Regions from separate parts of the Homo sapiens genome. Here region 1 is linked to region 2. Evidence: promoter capture Hi-C in 16 types of primary human blood cells and fetal thymus (Javierre and others, 2016). All regions are on one chromosome and are shown on one strand. Each heading gives the region's core, a stretch centred on a gene start or on the middle of the fragment in contact. The rest is flanking DNA. Distances are from core to core; before and after follow the strand shown. Region 1 has its middle 7.0 kb from the start of TRY-GTA6-1. Region 2 holds the start of H4C4 (H4 clustered histone 4).

What was found. The method cuts DNA at HindIII sites, captures the fragments that hold promoters and counts their contacts. A CHiCAGO score of 5 or more calls a contact.
Region 1: a contact is called between a fragment that was not itself captured here and the fragment with the promoter of H4C4 in region 2, in 7 of 17 cell types (neutrophils, total CD4 T cells, total B cells and 4 more). The highest score is 9.5, in neutrophils.

The regions. Positions count from the first base shown.
Region 1 is chr6:26,585,114-26,590,660 of GRCh38, forward strand. No RefSeq gene overlaps it. Among named protein-coding and RNA genes, the nearest start is that of TRY-GTA6-1, 7.0 kb to the right of the region's middle. The HindIII fragment of the contact is 5,392 bases long and covers 559-5,547 here.
Region 2 is chr6:26,185,588-26,190,631 of GRCh38, forward strand. It overlaps H4C4 (H4 clustered histone 4), which reads right to left and starts at 3,525. Exons shown (of 1, transcript NM_003539.4): 1 at 3,123-3,525. The coding sequence starts at 3,489. The coding sequence ends at 3,178. RefSeq lists enhancers at 2,126-2,751, 3,534-3,713. The HindIII fragment of the contact is 9,357 bases long and covers 1,507-5,044 here.

The sequences.
Region 1 (5,547 bases), core at 2,005-4,504, 400 kb after region 2:
GATGCTCAGTCTATTTACTAATAATAATTAGGCATAAAACTCAACATTAAGAAATGATCTCGCATGGTAATTTTCAGGTGCAGCAAGGATTTAAGAGGCTAAGATTTTATGATTCATGCTACAATTTTCTATTTGTCTTAGGGAAGATCTGTCCCCAAAGAAGCAAATGGTTGGTAGAAGTTATGAGGGAAAAAGGAAAGCAATCTGAATTGTGGGTGCTGTGGCAAGGGAGAAAAGGAGAAAAAGGACAGTCACTATGGCTGCATATGGGGCCAAGAGACAGAGCAGGTGAAATGCCTCTTGTGTCTAATAATTATTTTTGCTGTAATCCTAATGACTGAACTTTCCAGGCTTGAAAAACTGCCATAGTATTTTAAAATCCCAATCTTAGATCTGTGTTCATTCTAATTTTGAGATTTTTACTACTTTTAGCTCAATACATTTAAATGTTCTAGAATTCTACCACAAAGAACCAAAGAAACTTTAGACATTTTCCTAAGCTTATCATAATATAAAGTGATATTAGGCTGTACGTAGACCACTGGCAATACTTCACTAAGCTTTTTCTTGGGATATGTTGATATTAATATATTAAAATATATATGTATATTTAAAAACCTGTTTTCTATGAACACTTTTAGCATACCTCTTAGTGCTCAAGTTCACACAATTTTGTTGGATATTTACCTAGAAAGGAATCTGGTCTTCTTAATGAATTCATACTTCTGAATTTCCTGGATGTATCCATCTGGATACATTAGCTTATGCTGCAATAATAAGTAATTCCTCTCCCCCACGCCAAATCATACTGGCTTATAACCATAAACTCCTATTTCTGTGTCATAAAAATCTATCATGATTTGGTTGGTGGTCTCTATTTCACTAATAAACCCTGATTTGTAGATCCTCTACAATCAAAATAATCAATTATTTTGTCAAGGTAAGGTAAAAAGGGACCCGATAGATTGCTCACTGACTCTCAAACATCTGGAAGGGACACCTCATTTTCCAGAACAAATGTGTCATATGTCCACATCTATTTCTGAGGAAGTAAGAACTACAATCTGCACATGCTACGTTACTAGAAGACTGTGGATCAGAATGACCATATGACCATCACAGAGCACCATAGGGCCACCAATTATTCTGGCTGCTCTCCTTCCTAAAAGCCAAATACATTTAGCTTTTCCCTATGGGAGACAACACAAAGGTCCATTAGAACATGGGCCAGTTGGAAGTCTAGCATCTCTGAACCATGGTGGTCCCTCCATTGATGAAGGATTGCAGTAGTTTCTATGTTGATTTTCATAAAAGCAGCTAGGCAAGTTTCCCAAATCTGAAACTTAGTGCAATAAAAAATATTGTACATAATATGAAAACATCAGAACAAAAGCATTGGAGACAAAATATGGTGAAAACAAACGTATTGTTGTATAATACGTTAGAACATAATTATTATGGGTAAAAGAACAAACAGTTCTTTTAGTTCCCCTAAATCTTAGAGAATACTTTGATTTTGTTTGTTTTTATTTTTTATTTGATTTATTTTTTGTTTTTGTTTTTGTTTTGAGACGGGGTCTCGCTCTGTTGCCCAGGCTGGAGTGCAGTGGCTACATCTCCACTCGCTGCAACCTCTGCCTCCTGGGTTCAAGTGATTCTCCTGCCTCAGCCTCCCAAGAACCTGGGACTACAGGCACCTGCTCCAATGCCCAGTGAAGGTACCTGCCACAATGCCAGCCGGTTTTTGTATTTTTAGTTGAGACAGACTTTCACCACATTGGCCAGGTTGGTCTCGAACTCCTGACCTCAGGTGATCTTCCCACATCTGCCTCGCAAAGTGGTGGGATTGCAGGTGTGAGCCACCATGCCTGGCCTAAGCAGTGTCTTTTATAAAGCAAACATTTAAATTTGATTAAGTCTAATTTATTAATTTATATTTTTATAGCTTTTTTTGTGTGTGTGTTCCTTTAAAGAATTTTTTGCCTAACCAAAGGTCATACAAATTTTCTTCTAGAAGTTTTACAATTTTATGATAAAGTTTTAATTATTAAATATGTTGCTGATGTGGGGCCATAGATTTTTTTAAATACATGAATGTCCAATTGTACCCGTACCAATTACTGAACGCCTATCCTTTTTCCATTGAATTATTTTGACAGCTTTCTCAAAAATCAATTGTCAATATGTATGTGAGTCTGCTTCCTGGCTCTCTAGTTTGTCCCATTGATCTGCAGGCCTATCCTTACACCAACACCATTTTGTCTTGATTACTTAATTTTTAAATAAATCTTGAAAACTTAACAGTGTATGTCCTCCAACTTTGTAATTCTTATTTAAGATGGCTGTTGTTATTCTGAGTTATTTGTGTTCCAAGTTAATTTTGTAAAATAATCTGGACCATTTTTACAAAAAAAAAAACAACCCACTGGGATTTTTATTGGGATTGTGTTGAATCCATAAATTAACCGGAGGGACTTGGCAGCTCCACAGTATCAAATCTTCTGATCCATAAATATGTTATATCTCTCATTTATTTGGTTCTGAGTGATTTATTTATTTATTTATTTATTATATTTTTGAGACAGAGTTTCCCTCTGTCTCCCAGGCTGGAGTGCAGTGGCAACATCTCCGCTCACTGCAACCTCGGCTTCCCGGGTTCAAGCGATTCTCCCGCCTCAGCCTACCGAGTAGCTGGAATTACAGGCGTGCGCCACCACGCCCGGCTAATTTTTGTATTTTTAGTAGAGACAGGGTTTCTTAGTCATACAGTAAGTTGATGCAAAAGTAATTGCCGTTTTGCCAGTAGAAAACGGCAAAAAGTAATTGCGGTTGTTCCCATCTTTTACTGGCAAAACCGCAATTACTTTTGCACCAACCTATAAAGTACAACTTATAAAGTATTTTGTTTACTTTATAAGTCAGGGTTTTGTACAAGTAAAACTTTCAAAGTGTGCATTTAAAATTTTTTTTAAAAAAATTGACAGCAGTCTGTAAGTGTTGAGAAGAAAGTGCACATTTTAGCAAGTTCAGGCAAATGTATGCTGGAAGTAACCAACACAAATACAAAGATAAATACATATCCTTTGCTTCCCAAAACTGTCTCATGCCCTTTTACAGTCGATTGCTGCTATCCATTCTCAGCCCCTGACAACCCAGGCTGGAGTGCAATGGCGCGATCTCGGCTCACTGCAACCTCCATCTCCTGGGTTCAAGCGATTCTCCTGCCTCAGCCTTCCGAGCCTCAGCCTCCCGAGTAGCTGGGATTACAGGTATGTGCCACCACGCCCGGCTAATTTTTTATTTTTAGTAGAGATGGGATTTCACCATGTTGGTCAGGCAGGTCTCGAACTCCTGACCTCAGGTGATCTGCCCGCCTCGGCCTCCCAAAGTGCTGCGATTACAGGCGTGAGCCACCGCGCCCGGCCTGATTTTGGTTTTTATACTTTTGTCTTTTCTCTAACTGTATAAATGAAATAATTTGGGACCAGGCACCGTGGCTCATGCCTGTAATCCCAGCACTTGGGGAGGCCGGGGCGGGTGGATCACTTGAGGTCAGGAGTTGGAGACCAGCCTGGGGAACAAGGCGAAAACCCGCCTCTACAAAAATTAGCGGGGCGTGGTGGCACGTGCCTGTAGCCTCAGCTACTCGGGAGGCTGAGGTTGGAGGATAACTTGAACCCGGGAGGCGGAGGTTGCTATGAGCCGAGATCCCACCACTGCACTCTTTAGAGCCTGGGTGACAGAGTTGAGACCCTGTCTAAATAATAATAATAATAAATTGAATGTATCCCTTTGTAATTCCCTGTTGTTGTTGTTGTTGTTGTTGTTGTTGTTGAGACAAGAGTTTTGCTCTGTCACCCAGGCTAGAGTGCAGTGGCGCGATCTTGGCTCACTGCAGTCTCTGCCTCCCGGGTTCAAGCGATCCTCCTGCCTCAGCCTCCCAAGTAGCTAGGGTTACAGGCTCCCGCTACCGCGTCCGGTTAATTTTTGTATTTTTAATAAAGACGGTGTTTCACCATGTTGGCCAGGCTGGTATCGAATTCCCGATCTCAGGTGATCCGCTCTCCTTAGCCTTCCGAAGTATTGGGATTACAGGCGTGAGCCACACCGCCCAGTCAATGATTGACTTTCTTTATATAACATAATGCTTTAAGATTTATCAATGTGGTGGCCTTTTTGGAGGCCGAGGCAGGCGGATCACCCGAGGTCAGGAGTTGGAGGCCGGCCTGCCCAACGTGGCGAAACCCCCTCTCTACTAAAAATACAAAAAATTAGCCGGGCGTGGTGGCGGGCACCTGTAATCCCAGCTACTCGGGAGGCTGAGGCAGGAGAATCGCTTGAACCCGGGAGGCAGAGGTTGCAGTGAGCCGAGATTGCGCCACTACACTCCAGCCTGGGTGATAAGAGCGAAATTCTGTCTTAAAAAAAAAAATTATCAATGTGGCATATATTAGTAGTTAATTCCTTTTATTGCTGAGCAGTATTCCATTATGTGGATTTACTACAACTTATCCATTCACCAGCTGATAGATACTTGGATGTTTCTAGTTTTTGGCAGTTATGCATAAAGCTACTATAAATATTCATGTAGTGTTATGGCAAATATATGTATAACTTCATTTTTAAAAACTGACAGTGTTTTTCAAGGTGGACCAGTTTGTATTCCCACCAGCAATATATAAGAATTTCAGTTATTTCACATCATCATCGGCGCTCGGCACTGTTAATTTCTCACCTTTTTTTTTTTTAACTTCAGCTATTCTCTTAGGTGTGTAAAGTATCTCATTGTGGCTTTAATTTGCATCTGCCTAATGAATAGTGATGTTACATATCTTATTATGCTTATTGGCCATCAGTACAGCTTCTTTTGTAAAATATCTGTCCAAATCATTTGTCCATTTAAAAAAGGGTATTGTCTGGTCTTATTATTGAGTTGCAAGAGTATGTTATTGTTCTGGTTATAAGTCCTGCATCAGGGAAGTGTTTTCCAAGTATCTTTTTCTAAACTGTGACTTTTTTTTTTTTTTTTTTTTTGGTAGAGAGGGGATTTCGCTGTGTTACCCAGGCTGATCTTGAACTCCTGGACTCAAGCAATCTGCCGGCCTCAGCCTTCCAAAGTGCTGGGATTACAGGCTTGAGCTACCATGCCTGGCCTGACTTGTCTTTTCTTAACAGTATCTTTTGAAGCGCAGATTTTTTGTTAAACTTTGATGAAATTCAACTTATTTTTTCCTTTATGGTTTATGCTTTTGTGTCCCATTTAAAATCTTTTTGCTTAACCTAAAGTCACAAAGAGTTCCTTCTACGTTTTCTTCTAGAGGTTTTGTTGTTCTAGTCCTTGCATTTAAGTCTTTGATTAATTTTGAATTAATGTTTGTACATTGTGTGATATAAGGGTCTAAGTTCACTTATTAGCACATGGATATTCAGGTTTTTTAGCATCATTTTGCAAAGATTATCGTTTTCCTGTAGAATTACCTTGGCACCTCTGTCAAAAATCAATTAATCATAATCATGTAAGTTTATCTCTAGACTCTATGTAGCTTT
Region 2 (5,044 bases), core at 2,275-4,774:
ATTGAAATACTTCAGTGAGCAAGATAGACAAGAGACTGCCCTTCTGAGGCTCATATCCTAGTGAAGGAAGAGAGATGATAGACTGGGCATGGTGGCTCACGCCTGTAATCCCAGCACTTTCGGAGGCCAAGGAGGGCGGATCATCTGAGGTCGAGATTTCAAGACCAGGTTGTCCAACATGGCAAAACCCTGTCTCTATTAAAAATACAAAAATTAGCTGAGCATAGTATCACAGGCCTGTAGTCCCAGCTACTTGGGAAGCTGAGGCAGAAGAATAGGAGAATTGCTTGAACCCAGGAGGCGGAGACTGCAGTGAGCCAAGATCACACCACTGCACTCCAGCGTGGGTGACAGAGGGAAATTCCATCTCAAAAAAAAAAAAAAAAAGAAGAAGAAGAAGAAGAATATAGGTCTATTTCACTCAGCAAATGGTAACTCACTCCTGTTCAATGTATTATTTAGTATTATGTCTGCGATTCCTCTCTATCTTTAAATTTGGGATCTCTAGATCTCAGACCCTGAAATCCTAGACTTCTGGTTGTTGACAGGAATCCATGGAGCCCTGGGAGTTCCTTGAGTTTCTGAGAATAATGAGCCTCATAAAATGTCTATGTTCATATGTCTATTTTCAACAGATTCTCAAAGGAGTTTTTGATCCATCTATTACTACAAACTACTCTATTTTTTTTTTTTTTTTTTTTTTTTGATACAGAGTTTTGCTCTTGTTGCCCAGGCTGGAGTGCAATGGCACGATCTTGGCTCACCACAACCTCTGCCACCTGGGTTCAAGCGATTTTCCTGCCTCAGCCTCCTGAGTAACTGGGGTTACAGGGATGTGCCACTATGCCCAGCTAGTTTTTTATTTTTAGTAGAGACAGGGTTTCTCCATGTTGGTCAGGGTGTTCTCGAACTCCCAACCTCAGGTGATCCCCCTGCCTTGCCCTCCCAAAGTGCCAGGATTACAGGTGAGAGCCACAGTGCCCAGCAGAACCACTCTTGAAGGGAAGTCAGCCCATTGAAATATACAGGTTACCACTGCTGAAGACATATAGACTATCTAGTCTACCCATTGATAACTTTTTTTTTTTTTGAGATAGAGTCTCACTCTGTGACCCCAAAGTTGCTAGGACTACAAGCATGTGCCAGCATGCCCGGCTAATTTTTGTATTTTTATTAGAGACGAGGTTTCTCCGTGTTGGCCAGGCGGGTCTCAAACTCCTGACCTCAAGTGATCCACACACCTTGGCCTCCCAAAGAGCTGGGATTACAGGCGTGAGCCACGTGCCTTGCCTGATCTCTAACTTGTAATCAGCCCCACTCTGTTCTGTCTATAATGGAACCCAACAGAGGTGATACCAAGTCGACAGGCTCATTTGGCATCAGCTTTTCTGTAAAGAGCTTTCAGGTCAATGGAAGGACATTCCACAATACTAAATAAGTTTAGTAACAAAACTGAATTTTGTGTGATAAAGTTATGCTGCTTACAAAGAGACTCAACAATAAATAAGCTTAAAGACAGATATTTTTGTTTCATGGAACAAATCCATTGTGATTAGTCCAGCTTTGTGAAGCAGCTCTGCTCCTTGTGATCAATCAGGAAATTTCGTTCCTTCCAAGTCAATGTTCTGTCATCTCCTAGGGCCTGATGTTCTCTAATTGCTCAAAATGAAATCAATACCATTATACTTGGGGAAGAAGGTAACATGGAAGTTTCAAAGCCCAGACCTGGTAGTAACTTTTCTATGTGTCTCACCTGTGTTGGAAATAATGTAGCCACATGCTTACATCTGCTCCCAGAAAGACCAGGAAATGTTGTCTCTTGCTAGATAGCCACCTGTCCAGCTTTCTTTTTATTATGATAAAGTGAAAAAACTTTATTGGAAAAATAAGGGTTTACTCAATATTCTCCACAAATTAAAATCCATTTTGAGGACAGCGAATAATACAGTGGCATACTGATAGTCCTGCGATTGTAAGGACTGGAGTAACCCACTAGGGAATGGCTTACTTATTTTTGTCTCATTTCCTGAGGTGTAAAGGGAAAGAAGGTGGGAATTTAATCATGACAACCTCGGTTTTAAACACCCATTCATGCAACCACAGTAACCTGATCTATGATTTAAGGTAAAATGACTTCTGTTAATAATAAAGTCTAAGACTATTTAAGATAAAAGGACAACAAAAAAAGAACTCGTTCAACATACCTTTAAATTGGCCACGGGTACATAAATAAAAAGTCCTTTTAAATTCAACAATAGAAAATCAGTAGATCTGGATGGAAGGCAGCTCAGAGGAACAGAACCAAACAAGTTGGCCTCTCCCCATTCCACTAAAAAATGTTGAATCTTATGTACTTTCATGGTTGTTTCTCCCACGGTAATTACTACTTTCTTCTTTAAAGAATGTATTTGCCAGTCAAGTGCCTCCAACACACCTCCCATCCCCCCACACCAATAACCATCTGAATGCCATTTTGTCTTCCTTTCATATAACAATGCCTTGGTAGGAACTAGTAACTACCTCCATTTTTTTCACTATTCTTCACGGCAGCATCAGCCTTTACCACTTGCCTTCTGAGATACAGGTTTTGCTACCTTGTTTCTCCAGCAGCTACAGTCTTTGCTACCTTGTTTCTCTGATAGCCATGAAGAATGTTAGCAGCAGTTTGCCATGTTTCCTTACAGAAATACAGAAAACACAGGCCAAGCGTGGTGGCTCACGCCTGTAATCCCAGCACTTTCGGAGGCGGAGGAGGGAAATCTCTTTTGAGCTTGAGTTCAAGACCAGCCTGGGAAACATGGCGAAAACCCATCGCTGCAAAAAATACAAAGATTAGCCGGGTGTTGGTGGCGCAAGCCGGTTGCCCCAGCTACGCAAGAGGCTGAGGCACAAGAATCGTTTGAACCCGGGAGGCGGAGACTGCAGATTGCCGAGATCGCGCCATTGATTACTCCAGCATGGGCGACACAGCAAGAGTGAAAATAAACTTTAATACACTATCCTCACCGGCCAGTAAGATATGAAGCCAAGGCGTAATAAGACCATTTAACTTGAAAACCGGAGCTACTAAACACGTGAAACTACACTTTTAGCAGTGACTACTACTCTTTCTCCTGAGTGGATAGGTGGCCCTGAAAAGGGCCGTTGGTTTTGCGGTAGTGTACTGTAGAGGTAAGCTCAGCCGCCGAAGCCATAAAGAGTGCGTCCCTGGCGCTTGAGCGCGTACACCACGTCCATGGCTGTGACTGTCTTGCGTTTGGCGTGTTCCGTGTAGGTGACAGCATCGCGGATTACATTTTCCAGGAAAACTTTCAGCACTCCGCGAGTTTCCTCATAAATGAGGCCAGAAATACGCTTGACGCCGCCGCGGCGAGCCAGGCGGCGGATAGCGGGCTTGGTGATTCCTTGGATATTGTCACGCAATACCTTACGGTGACGCTTGGCGCCACCCTTACCTAGACCCTTTCCGCCCTTACCGCGGCCAGACATCTTGAAACCACAGCTGTTAAATCTGTAACGCAATACGTCTGGCAGAGCCACGCAGCACTTTTATAATAGCATGACGGACCTGTTTGAAAACCTCATGAGAAGGGGCGGGAACCACAGTCAGTTCCCGCCCTTCTGTGCAATTCTCCCTTGCTCAGACTGGAGGAGACCAAGAGGGGCCTGAGGCAACAAAAGAGCCTCAGCTGGGATTTAATAAATACTGCTAGGTATATATATATATATACACACACACTATACTTGCAGCCATTAACTGAGCCATCAGTTCATAAACTTTCGACAAAGAAGCCTGACAATTGTCCCCCACTTTTCCCAGAATATCAAATAATTAGTACTGTTTCCCTCACAGGGTGCTTTTTTTTTTTTTTTTTTTTTTTTTTTTTGAGACGGGTTCTTGCTCTGTTGCCCAGGCTGGAATGCAGTGGCACGATCTAGGCTCACTGCATCCTCTGCCTCCCGGATTCAAGCAATTCTCCTGCCTCAGCCTCCCGAGTAGCTGGGGTTACAGGCGCCCGCCACCATGCCCAGCTAATTTTGGTATTTTTTTAGTAGAGACGGGGTTTCACCATAGGCCAGGATGGTCTCGAACTCCTGACCTTGTGATCCACCTGCCTCGGCCTCCCAAAGTGCTAGGATTACAGGCGTGAGCCACCGCGCCGGGCCATAAGGTGCTTTCAAAGTATTTTAAGTAACTCATATCTTTATTGTCTCTGAGATTATTTTTATTGATTTATGCATTCCTAGTTAACCAAGCAGGGCTCTTTGGCATGCAGGCTAGATAGTGCTACTGAGGGAACTAAAAGTATATGAAAGTTACACATTTAGAGGTCAAATTAGGATAAGATCACCGAGGGCCGATTGAAAACATGACTATGTACACCCGTAAAAGAAAACCTTGTTGGGCTGAAATTTATGAAAATTTATGCTTTGATTGTGCCTTTAATCATGGACAGATTGTAGCTAGCACTGCATCATTCACCATATTCTATTACTCCAGCAAATTGGCATCATAGTATCCCTCCAAACTATCATAGAGACAGCCTGCTTGACATACATGCTGTGGGGGTGACCCTGGGCAAGCTATACTAAGTTTCCTTGTTGTAAATGTATTTTTAAAAATCTAACTTGTAAGTATTTGTTAAGTTGAAACAGATAATCCTATCAAAATGCTTAGAATAGTGTCTAGATTCCAAATAAGCAATGACTAAACATTAATTATGGTATAGTACAATATTGTGGGTGTTTTCAATTCCTATCCTTAAGGTTCACCCTTCTAAAGGGATGAGAGACAGTATTCTAATTTGCTAAAATCTGATTTCGAGAACTCCTCAAAATAATAAATAATTAAAAACTTAACTCATCATTAATCCCCATAAAAAGTTCCAGGTCCTTTGGGTGGAATATTTGGCTTTTCCTTCATGACTTGTGAGAAGAACCAAGTTTATCACAGCTGTTTGCTGTTTATTGAGTTTATGGTACATGGAAAAGATTGCAGAGTAAGGTTCTTAGCCTGGGATACATAGAAAGTCTTCAGGGGATC